3 separate regions of the Homo sapiens genome follow, and regions 1 and 2 are each linked to region 3. Evidence: promoter capture Hi-C in human tissues and cell types (Jung and others, 2019). All regions are on one chromosome and are shown on one strand. Each heading gives the region's core, a stretch centred on a gene start or on the middle of the fragment in contact. The rest is flanking DNA. Distances are from core to core; before and after follow the strand shown.

Region 1 (4,211 bases), core at 1,602-4,101, 220 kb before region 3:
CCTTCATCTTTGCTCAGGTTTGCTGCTGCACCTTTGGGATGGGCTTGGAGTTTTTCTCTATGGCTCTGTAGCTTGTCTCTTAATCAGATCAGAAGCCCCAGGCACAAAATCTAAGAGAATTTACTGACTGGAGGGAGTAAAGAAAGACTCCTGAGTCCTCCAGGAACCCTTAGACTTACCTGACCCTAAGGCAGATTCATGAACTTGCAATGAGGATCAGAAGGATTTCCTAGGGCTGCCAATTTCTGAATGTATTTGCTGCCTTGCCTTTGTAAGGCTGAGATTGCCATACCTGGCTTCATTATGTATTAAAAAATGCATCATTTTTCCTCTTAGACTTTTTATTTGGGAGTCCCTATTTAGTTGAGAGAGCTATATGGAATGCAATGAAAATGGATTTTGGAGGCAGCAGAGTTGGGTTTGAACTTTCTCTGCTACCAACTAGCCATATGACCCTGAGCAACCGACTGAAGCAACCTTAGATATATTATTTGTAAAATAATAAAAATATCTATGTTGAAGGATTGTTTGCATTTTAAAAAACTTGATATTACTTACACAAAAAAGTGCCTTGCACAAAATATTTACTCAGTGTTCATTCTCTACCTCCCTACTTGTCTCCTGTCTTCCTTCTCTTCTCCTTGGAAAAGACAGTTCATACAGATAAAATGTATCAACAAGTTTGGAAAGGAGTAGGCAGACATACCTGTGTTTTCCTTTGAGTTGAGGAGTAGGAGGTTTAGACAGCTTCTAATCAGAAACAAATGGCCTCCACCAATAAGAATACTTGAATTTCCAGGCCACTAGGTAGAGGCCTGGGGCTGGCAGATCTTTGCTGTGCTCTATCTCTGCAATCATAAGGTAAAAAGAAATGACTGCTAACTGAATTGCCAAAGTGAAAAATATACTGACGTGAATAGACTGGAAGCAAATTAATTCATTCAACAAATATGCCCTGGGTACCTCTAAGTGCAGGTCCTAAGCTAAGTATGGGGCCCTGAAGATAATGAAGACCCTGCAACTAAGAAATAGTAGTAAAGTCTTAGAATTTAAAAAAGACCGTGACTGCTCTTAAGATGTTGTATATGGAGAGGCTGATACTACCTTGTGCTAAGTCCTATGGTAGCAGCATGCTCTAGGCATGAATGCTTGCACTCTCCTGGCCTGTTTATTATCCCTGTCTAGAGACCTAGTTAGTGACACAGAGTGGCCTGTGGGGTTAAAAACGTGCTGGGCAAAAGCACTTTAAGGACTGACTTAGAGACTCTACAGGCAGTAGAAACAAATTGGGAATTAGCACCTTTTAAAATTAATCCGTATTTACAGACTATAAATTTCTGAATGGGAGCAACCTTTTTAAATTTTGCCTTGAGTCAGTAGAGGAAGGTAGTGAGTGAACTGGAAATTGAGAGATCTGAGTTCTAGTTCTGCTTCTGCCTCTAAGCAGCTTGTAACCCTGGACACAATTCTCAATTTCTCTGAGCCAGTGCTTCCACATTTGTAAAACAGAGGGTTCAAGTGGCTTTCTCTTTGTTTCCTTCAAGCTTGAAAGGACTGTTCTTATGTCTGAAAACCAAGTAATTGGTGCACAAAAAAAAAAAGATATGAATTCAAAGGTAGGCGAGAATACTGCAGGCTTGAAGGATTGGGAGAACGTGTGTGCAAACTCTGCAAACTATAAAGTGGACTTCATAAGGTACTTGGTTGCTCAAAGGTGCTTATATTTATTTATTTATTTATTTGAGTTGGAGTCTCACTCTGTCTTCCAGGCTGGAATGCAGTGGCACAATTTCGGCTCACTGCAACCTCCACCTCCTGGGTTCAAGTGATTCTCCTGCCTCAGCCTCCTGAGTAGCTGAGACTACAGGCAGGCGGCACCACGCCTGGATAATTTTTGTATTTTTAGTAGAGACGGGGTTTCACCATGTTGGTCAGGCTGGTCTCAAACTCCTGATCTCAAGTGGTCTGCCCTCCTCGGCTTTCCAAAGTGCTGGGATTACAGGCGTGAGCCACCGTGCCAGCCATAGGTTGCTTATATTTAGTCCCTTGGCAGAAAGGAGACCTGACCTATTGAACTAGACCTTTGTACAACGGGAAAACCCCACCCTATACCTGACTGACCAGCAAATGTAGGAATCCTTTATGAGACATGGAGAGACTTGGGTGATTTGCAAATCATGTAATCAATTATGATTTCTTTGAATTTGAAATTTGATCATTTTATGTTTCTTATCATCATCCTACCATGCTCTTGCTTTGTTACAGTATTTTTTTCCCACGCCATCTATGGGGTATTTGTTTCCCAATGGCTGGCATTTCCATCTCATTCATAAGATGAAATCAGAGGTCACTGGAGTCACTGAAAGTCTCATGATTCTGTTTATCTCACTGACACTTTCCTTTTGGATGGTTCTGTCCACAACATAACTTTGTTTCCTTACAACTTCCCTTTGCTTCCTGACTCTCTCCTTAATTCTCTTGCTTTAGCCCTAGTCAAGAGACCCCAAAAGAAGATAATCACATTCATTCTTAAGGAACACACTCCAAGAAAAACATTCATCTTTTGTGAAAGCAGTTTCTGGATCATTTCCCCATTAAAAAAAAAATCCAGGACACTTACCTTGGTTAGCATAGAGCAGATTCTTTGACTTAAATTATTTCTCAAAGTCAAGGAAAGTGTTTGTCTTTTTTTTTTAAAAAAGCTCAAAACCCAAATTCTTTTTTCTGAAAGAAAAATAAATGGAAAGATGACTTTTGTAAAAGTGCCCTCAGTTTAAAACAAAAGCCATTCGTCTTTTCTGTTATGCTAGTGACAGCAGAAAGTATACAGACTAAGGAAAAAAAGTTGTGTAAGAGGCAAGCGTGATACTTCCGTGATCTTAAGGGAGGGCGGAATGGTGAGTTAGAATACAGCTGTTGGATTGGCAGAACATAAACGCTTCCTGCCCCTTTACCCCACCCTCCTCAACGTCATAGTTCTGGCAAAGCCCTAAAGCTATGGGAAGCACATGATAGCGTCGCTTTTGCCATTATAGTCTGTAGAGGGCGCCAAATCACCCCAAATTACAGCTTTCTCAGCGAAACAGGAGTTCTACTTTTGGAAACAAACTTCTACACCCTGACTCTTGCTTGGATTACCATAGGAGCTGTCCAAAGGAGAAAGTTATTTAGATGACCATTACCTCATCAAGTTCTTTCATGCTTGGAGTTCTCCAACCCCAGAAATGTGATTTTAAAGTTCAGGACTTACAAGGAATTTAAGCTGTTTTGTCCTTCAGATTGGATCAGCAGAGGGAGCTGGTGAAATGTGTTTGAGAAAGCATAAAGCTATTTTTAGATATTAACCTAGGGCACAAGAAAGGTAATAATTATAGAAGCTGTGGCAGAAATAGAAAACTTAACTGTTTTTCCTTCCACTGTGTGCTTGTAAGATAATATAACAGACCATCTTTAGGACTTGTGTTTAGGGACATTTTCCAACATGGTTCACTGAACAATTTCTAAACCACATTTGCTTGTGACTACACATGCAAATGCCTACAGGAGTGAGGAGGGTAACATACACGAGGAAAGTGGGCCAGATATGATCTGACTGGAAAGTACTTTCTCTGTCTATTCAGTTCAGCTAAATGTTGCTATTTGAGAAAATGAGCCCAATATGGCAAGGCCTTAGGTTCTTTTCAGTAAAAGCTGCAAATACAGATTTTAATATAAAATCTTCTGTTGGCAGCAAATATTTTCTTTTGAAAAATATCATGGAATATTATGCAGCCATAAAAAGAAATAAGATCATGTCCTTTGCAGGGACATGGATGAAGCTGGAAGCCATCATCCTCAGCAAACTAACACAGGAACAGAAAACCAAACACTGCATGTTCTCACTCATAAGTGGGAGTTGAACAATGAGAACACATGGACACAGAGAGGGGAATGTTGTAGGGCCTGTTGTAGGGTAGGGGGTGAGGAGAGGGAACTTAGAGGAGAACAGGTCAATAGGTGCAGCAAATCACCATGGCACACGTGTACCTATGCAACAAACCTGCACGTTCTGCACATGCATCCCACTTTTTTTTAGAAGAAATAAAGAAAAAAATTTAAAAAAAGAAAAAAAAATATTGTGTCCAGAGTTAGTTCCTTCCGGTGGGTTCCTGGTCTCCCTGACTTCAAGAATGGAGCTGCGGACCTTTGTGGTGAGTGTTACAGTTCTTAAA
Region 2 (3,885 bases), core at 638-3,137, 150 kb before region 3:
AATGCATCATACCAAGTCTTTATTGATCAATGCACTAGAGGGATGTTTCTTAGCTCCTTCATTGTATTTCTCAATCATCTTCTTTTTTAAAAAGTATATTTTTTATTTCGATAGGTTTTTAGGGAGCAGGTGGTGTTTGGTTACATGAAAAAGTTCTTTAGTGGTGATTTGCGAGATTTTGGTGCACTCATCACCCAAGCAGTGTACACTGTACGCAATGTGTAGTCTTTTATGCCTCACCTCCCTCCTGCCCTTTCCCCTAAGTCCCCAAAGTCCATCGTATCATTCTTATGCCTTTGCATTCTCATAGCTTAGCTCCCACTTATGAGTGAGAACATACAATGTTTGGTTTTCCATTCCTGGGTTACTTTACTTAGAATAATGGTCTCTAACTCCATCCAGGTTGCTGCAAATGCCATTATTTTGTTCCTTTTTTTATGGTTGAGTAGTGTTCCATGGTGTGTGTGTGTGTGTATATATATATATGTATCATAAATTATTATCCACTCATTGATTGATGGGCATTTGAGCTGGTTCTATATTTTGGCAATTGCAAATTGTGGTGACGTAAACATGCTTGTGCAAGTATCTTTCTTGTGTAATGACTTCTTTTCCTCTGGTTAGATACCCAGTAGTGGGATTGCTGAATCAAATGGTAGAACTACTTTCAATTCTTTAAGGAATCTCCACACTGTTTTCCATAGTGGTTGTACTACTTTAAATTCACACCAGCAGTGTAAAAGTTTTCCCTTTTCACCACATTCATGCCAACATCTATAATTTTATATTTTTAAAATTATGGACATTCTTGCAGGAGTAAGGTGGTATTGCATTGTGGTTTTGATTTGCATTTCCCTGATCATTAGTGATGTTGAACATTTTTCCATATGCTTGTTGGCCATTTGTATATCTTCTTTTGAGAATTGTCTATTCATGTCTTTAGCCCACTTTTTGATGAGATTGTTCGTTTTTTCCTGCTGATTTGTTTGAGTTCCTTGTAGATTCTGGATATTAGTCTTTTGTTTTATGTATAGATTGCAAAGATTTTCTCCCACTCTGTGGGTTGTCCGTTAACTCTGCTAATTATTTCATTTGTTGTGCAGAAGCTTTTTAATTTAATTAAGTCCAATCTATTTATCTTTGTTTTTGTTGCATTTGCTTTTGGCTTCTTGGTCATGAAGTCTTTGCTTAAGTCAATGTCTAGAAGAGTTTTTCTGATGTTATCGTCTAGTATTTTTATGGTTTCAGGTGTTAGATTTGTCTTTCATTCATCTTGAGTTGTCAACCATCTTCTTCAGTCTCACTTCCATTACTCTATTTCACTTCTCTGATTCACAGTTAGAGCCACAGAATTTTAGAGCTGAAAGAGAGCACAGAATTTACTTAGTCTGAAAATTGGACCCACCCCGTGAAATTGTTTTTCTCTCTACAAAAAACAAAGTTAAGACAAACACAATTCCCTAACTCACAACTTCCCGCTACACTCGAAGCATCAAAGGTCCCCTACCTACACAGATCTTCCCCACAGATACCTGTCATTCTAAAATGTGAGTGTTTGTTTTTTAATGCCACACATTAAAGGAAGTAATTCCCTCTGTTCCTTACACCTCGAGGTTATTATTTTTCTTTTCCTGAGAACCCACCTTTAGAATGAAAGCACTGAAAGTGGAGTTGGAGGGAGAACCAAGACTACTTAAGGCCAATTATTATGCTTGAAATGAGTTTACTAGTGTCAGTAGTGGTGATTCAGTGACTCACATATCCACTATCTGAAGATTGGAGGAAACAGCCACTTTTATGTTTTTCTTTTTAAGAATTTCTTTAAACATCTTTATAGCTTGATAAACATTTGTGACAAAGCCTGCAACTGTACGTTAGAAACTATCTTATCTATCATATCACTTAGAATTCTATCTTGAGTCTGCCTAAGGGGTTTGTAATTAATACAAAAGGTATTACATGGTATCATTTTTTAAAATTTTTTCTAAAAAAATGGGTACATGTGCAGAATGCGTGGGTTTGTTACATAGGTATACATGCGCCATGGTGGTTTGCTGCATCGTCTAAGTTCCCTTCCCTCACTCCTCACCCCCAACAGGCCCTGGTGTCTGTTGTTGCCCTCTCTGTGTCCGTATGTTCTTATTGTTCAACTCCCACTTATGAGAGAGAACAAATGGTATTTGGTTTTCTTTTCCTGTGTTAGCTTGCTGAGGATGATAGCTTTCAGCATCATCCATGTCCCTGCAAAGGATATGATCTCATTCCTTTTATAGTATCCCATGCTGTATATATGCCACACTTTCATTATCCAGTCTATCATTGATGGGCATTTGGTTTGGTTCCATGTCTTTGCTATTGTAAATGGTGCTGCAATAAATGTGTGCATGTGTCTTTACAGTAGAATAATTTATATTCCTTTGGGTATATATCCAGTATTGGAATTCTAGGTCAAATGTTATTTCTGGTCCTAGATCCTTGAGGAATCACCATACTGTCTTCCACAATGGTTGAACTAACTTACATTCCCACCAACAATGTAAAAGCATTCCTATTTCTCCACAGACTCACCAGTATCTATTGTTTCTTGACTTTTTAATAATTACCATTCTGACTAGTGTGAGATGGTATCTCTTTGTGGTTTTGATTTGTATTTCTCTAATGATCAGTGATGTGGAGATTGTTTTCATGTTTGTTAGCTGCATAAATGTCTTCTTTTGAGAAGTGTCTGTTCATATCCTTTGCCCACTTTTTGATGGGGTTGTTTTTTTTCTTGTAAATTTGTTTAAGTTTCTCGTAGATTCTGGATGTTAGAGCTTTGTCAGATGGATAGATTGCAGAAATTTTCTCCCATTCTCTAGGTTACCTGTTCACTCTGATAATAGTTTCTTTTGTTGTGCAGAAGCTCTTTAGTTTAATTAGATCCCATTTATCAATTTTGGCTTTTGTTGCAATTGCTTTTGGCGTCTTAGTCATGAGGTCTTTGCCCATGCCTATGTCCTGTATGGTATTGCCTAGGTTTTCTTCTAGGGTTTTTAAGGTTTGTGGTTTTACATTTAAGTATTTAATCCAACTTGAGTTAATTTTTGTATAAGGCTTAAGAAGTGTCCACTTTCTGTTTTCTGCCTATGGCTAGCCAGTTTTCCCAGCACCGTTTACTGAATAGGAGATCCTTTCCCCATTGCTTGTTGTTGGCAGGTTTGTCAAAGATCAGATGGTTGTAGATGTGTGGTGTTATTTCTGAGGTCTCTGTTCTACTCCATTGGCCTATATGCCTGTTTTGGTACCAATACCATGCTATTTTGGTTACTGTAGCCTTGTAGTATAGTTTGAAGTCAGGTAGTGTGTTTCTTCTAGCTTTGTTGTTTTTGCTTACAATTGTCTTGGCTATACCGGGTCTTCTTTGATTTCTTATAAAGTTTAAAATAATTTTTTAAATTCTGTGAAGAATATCAATGGGAATAGCATTGAATCTGTAAGTTATTTTGGGCGGTATGGCCATTTTCATGATAGTGATTCCTCCTATCCATGAGGATGGAATGTTTTTCCATTTGTTTGTGTCCTCTCTTATTTCCTTGAGCAGTAGTTTGTATTTCTCCTTGAAGAGGTCCTTTACATCCCTTGTTAGCTGTATTCCTAGGTATTTTATTCTCTTTGTAGCAATTGTGAATGGGAGTTTGTTCATGATTTGGCTCCCTGCTTGTCTATTGTTGGTGTAAAGGCATGCTTGTGATTTTTGCACATTGATTTTGTATCCTGAGATTGCTGAAGTTGCTTATCAGTTTAGAGTTTTGGAGTTGAGATCATGAGTTTTCTAAATGTACAATTATGTCATCTGCAAACAGAGACAATTTGACTTCCTCTCTTCCTATCTGAATACACTCTATT
Region 3 (4,197 bases), core at 1,040-3,539:
AACTGCTATACATTATATCCATGTAATAAAACTGCACTTGTACCCCCTAAATCTGTAAAAAAAAAAAAAGATGTGAAAAGTTATTGTGTTTTAAATGAGTAAATAATTATAACTACATAAACCTAACTAATATTTACCACTAATTTTATGTCCAAGTGGCTCTTATTAATGATCTATCAAGGGAGAACTGTAATGGAGAATTTCAAAGCCCATTGTCTAATTTACTTCTGACTTGCAAGGAGGTTACTTTCCAACCTGCTCTTGACACTGTACTTAGTGGATTCCAATTCTAACAGATATGATAACTGCCATGGTAGCAGGTTTGGAAACCTGTGTGCACACAGTGTGCTCTTATACACTTCCCAACCTATTTTCCTGTCTATTACAACAACATGCTACTCACTGAAAATTTCCACAGGCCCCCAATGTCATTGCTCTTCTCAAAGCAGGTGGGCTCCAGCCCCTCTTCCAGACAGCTCCTGATGGAGGCCAAGCCACTCACACCAGCTCCAATGATGGCCACTTTCTTCCCCATGGTAACCTGTGCAAAGGCCCAGAGAACATTTCCAGTAACAACATTGCTGAAAATGTATTTACTTATTTATCTATTTATTTTGATTTCGCTCTTTGGCTTAATAAAAACTTTACTTTTTAATAAACACTGGCTGAGTATGGTAGCTCACGCCTGTAATCCCAGCACTTTGGGAGGCTGAGGTGGGAGGATCACTTGAGCCCAGGAGTTTGAAAGCAGCCTGGACAACAGAGTGAGACCCTGTCTCCACAAAACAAAACAAAAAACAAACAAAATCAGCTGGGTGTGGTGGCACATGCCTGTACTCCCAGCTACTCAGGAGGCTGAGGCGGTAGGATCACTTGAGTTCAGGAGTTCCAGGCTGCAGTGAGCCGTGATTGTACCACTGCACTCCAGCCTGGGTGACAGAGTAAGACCTTGTCTCTAGAAAACAAATTCCTTTTAGTGATCTAACTACATTTTCATTTCTCTCTAATTTCTAAAGAGAAAGTTTTCTTCTGAAAAAAAAATAAGCACTTTGTTTTTAGTCATCAGCTCTCCAAAATTAAGAGACTGATGACCCAGCATACATATTTATCTTTTTTGCTTTTGGACTTTGTCATTTACTGTCTACCAAAAAGAGTAAGCAGAAGAAATAAAGATTCGCAACTAAAACACCTGTAGACACATCCACCCACCCACCCACATACATATGCCTGTATATGGGAATGAAGAAACACATATGTATATGTATACACACACACAGTCATACACACACACACACACACACGCAATCTGTATCTTCTTTTTACTTAGATACGGATAATGAGGAACAAGGTCTGAAGATGTCTGTATTTCAGTGTGCCAGGTAGTCACCCCTTCTCCCCATCAATAATGTACTTCACCTTCTCAATTAAAAAGACAAGTAAATGGTGCATACCTATAGTCCCAGCTACTCTGGGATTATATAGTCCTGTTGAGCTGGGGTATCGCTTGAGCCCAGGAGTTTGAGGCTGCAGTGAGCTATGGTTACAGCACTGCACTGTAGCCTAGGTGACAGAGTGAGACCTTCTCTCCGGGGGGTGTTGGGGAAAGAAGTCATGTTCTTACCTAAAAACAATTTTTTCCCACTACCTTCAGCGTCCATTCCCCTCTAAGAAAATTACGTTTCCTAACTTTTTTCTGTTCCTGACACTGTCTTTAGGCTCTACCACTACTTCTTTCACTACTTTTTTTTTTCTTTTTAGACAAAATCACATAGCTATGCAGGGAAATAGACTTGGATGATTAAACATCATGATCCGTGATTCCCAGAAACAAACAAACTGCCTGAATTATATCATTCTCATTCTAGCCATATTTGGTATAAAACTACAGCATGCTCCTTCTTCATTTACCCATCCCACCCTCAACCCTTTACTATATCACCTTTTATTCTTTTTCTTTTCTTTTTTTTTTTGAGACGGAGTTTCGCTTTTATCCAGGTTGGAGTACAATGGTGTGATCTCGGCTCACTGCAACCTCTGCCTCCCAGATTCAAGTGATTCTCCTGCCTCAGCCTCCCAAGTAGCTGGGATTACAGGCATGCACCACTACGCCTGGCTAATTTTTGTATCTTTGGTAGAGATTTGGTTTCACCATGTTGGTCAGGCTGGTCTCAAGCTCCTGACCTCAGGTGATCCACCCGCCTCAGCCTCCTACCTTTTTAATTTTCCTACCCGTTCTTTGTCTTCTTTTCTTCTGTGTGTCTACGTCCTGTCCAACCGTCTGGGCAGTTTGAAAGAGAAAATGTTCTAGTGAGCCTACATATTAGGAAGATTGTTGAAAAATGGGAGGAGCTGCTCTTAAAGAGATACTCATTTATTGGTCCTTGAATGGGTGAGCACACGCCAACCCTCTGTGATGGATGGGACTGTAGGCCAGTCTCCCATGGCCACCCAGTTTCTACTTTTCCTTTGATTATGGTAAACACAAGCTGCTGGTTATACTCTTGGACCCTTGGCCTGGGAGTCAAGTAGTTTCTCCCAGGTGACTTTGCAGTTCTGTACTCCATTTTATTATGTGTTATTTGAAAGTTTACCTTGTTTTCCTTATTCCTAGTTCTTTTGTGGGTAGCTCATAGTAGTCCTCCAAATACTGTAGAAACTTAGCTACTTAATTGAGATAGCCCAATAAGGAGGATGACTTTTCTCTGCTCTCTCTTTTCATGTCCTGTCTTGGAATTTTGGGGTCAAAGGCCTGTATTTCTCAAGCTTATATTTACTTGTTTCTGAGTACAGTGTGTGGTCACAGAAAAGATCAAAATTCCACAAATTGATCTATTAGTACCAGGAACCAGGTAAAATTAGTACCAGGTAAAATTATGTTGGCAGTTAGACAAAATAAACTGCACCTAACTCCCAGTCATGAAATATAGTAGAATTTCAAAAAAAGTTTTCCTATCAACTATATTTTGATGTCACTTAGAATTATAACATCTCACTCATTTTGTCTAGTTAACTCCTTCATTAAGCAAGTGATACTTAGTGTAAACTGGTATATGTCTAATTTTGAGGAATTACCCTTCATGCCTTTTGAAGACAGTAATCTTCATCTCTGAAGTGTGAGTATGAGAGATTCCAAATCACTTCTATAGCTCTGTGGCCTTGGGCAAATCACTTAACCTTTCCAATCGTTGATTTACTCATTAATAAAATAGGGATAACTACACTATTAATTCCTGTCTGGCTATTTTTTTTTTAACAAGGATTAGAGGATTAAAGGGTATGTACACATAAATACATGTATACATAGGTACATATAAAATGTGGCATGTAGTTAAAAATGAGCAAATGTGACTTGTAGATAAAAATTAAAAACAAGTCATAGGTTCATGAAATTTTCTAGGGCTGCAATTCAGACAACATGATTTTCTCTGCTCTCATTTTACATAGAACTTCTTTTCAGTTTTTAATGCTACATAAATAGAATTAAAATAATGCAAAGAAAAGATTGTGACTACTTCAGGAAGCAATACTACTCCTATAGCCTTATTCATTTAAAGATTGGCAGGACACACCCAATTCTACCTTGGCCTCCGATGTTTTATCTCTCTAGGAGGTGAAAAGGCCACCTATTCTTTGCTGTCCTTCACAAGAATGTATCTGAAGTCGACACATTTATTAGTCCTGTCTCTCTCTAGCCTATCCTTTGCTTGCCACAGCTTTCTGCAGAGCCCCTTTTTAAATCTTCAGAATCTCAAATGCCCAGGCTCTGGTTGGGGCAGTGGGCATTCTCTACTCTGTTGTCCCCTCCAAATCACAAAACTGCTAAGAAGAAACTTTCATCCCTGGATGGTTGCTAGATTATTGTTGCTGTTGGAGGATATGAGTGGAAGACTTATATTCTGTTCTCTTGCTCTATATTTTCTTTGTATTTTAAAGAAATTTTTGTTTTCTTCTAATTGATTTGCTGGAGGCAAGGCATATATCTCTTGTGACACCTGTTGTCATGTCTGATGATGCATAACAGTTGAAAGATTTCTATAAAATGAGAGTGGCTTTTGGAGACTCAGACTTGATCATCAAAGCTATGATGGAACATTCCAAAGATGTGGATTCTTTAGGGTCCATATTCTGAAGCTAATATCTCGTAAAGAATCGAGTGAACAACAATTAGTGCAGGCAGTGCTAAATGAAGCTGACAGT

What was found. Contacts are between HindIII fragments. The study calls those that stand out against the background at their distance.
Region 1: a contact is called between the fragment with the promoter of FMO4 here and the fragment with the promoter of FMO3 in region 3, in 1 of the 25 tissues and cell types used here (adrenal gland).
Region 2: a contact is called between a fragment that was not itself captured here and the fragment with the promoter of FMO3 in region 3, in 1 of the 25 tissues and cell types used here (aorta).

What each region holds. Positions count from the first base shown.
Region 1 is chr1:171,312,823-171,317,033 of GRCh38, reverse strand. It overlaps FMO4 (flavin containing dimethylaniline monoxygenase 4), which reads right to left and starts at 2,851. Exons shown (of 10, transcript NM_002022.3): 1 at 2,621-2,851; 2 at 707-848. The HindIII fragment of the contact is 8,197 bases long and covers 1-4,211 here.
Region 2 is chr1:171,241,509-171,245,393 of GRCh38, reverse strand. All of the region lies in intron 2 of FMO1-AS1 (FMO1 antisense RNA 1), which reads left to right. Among named protein-coding and RNA genes, the nearest start is that of FMO1, 5.0 kb to the left of the region's middle. The HindIII fragment of the contact is 3,466 bases long and covers 155-3,620 here.
Region 3 is chr1:171,088,997-171,093,193 of GRCh38, reverse strand. FMO3 (flavin containing dimethylaniline monoxygenase 3) reads right to left here and starts at 2,289. Exons shown (of 9, transcript NM_001002294.3): 1 at 2,213-2,289; 2 at 404-541. The coding sequence starts at 535. The HindIII fragment of the contact is 16,457 bases long and covers 1-4,197 here.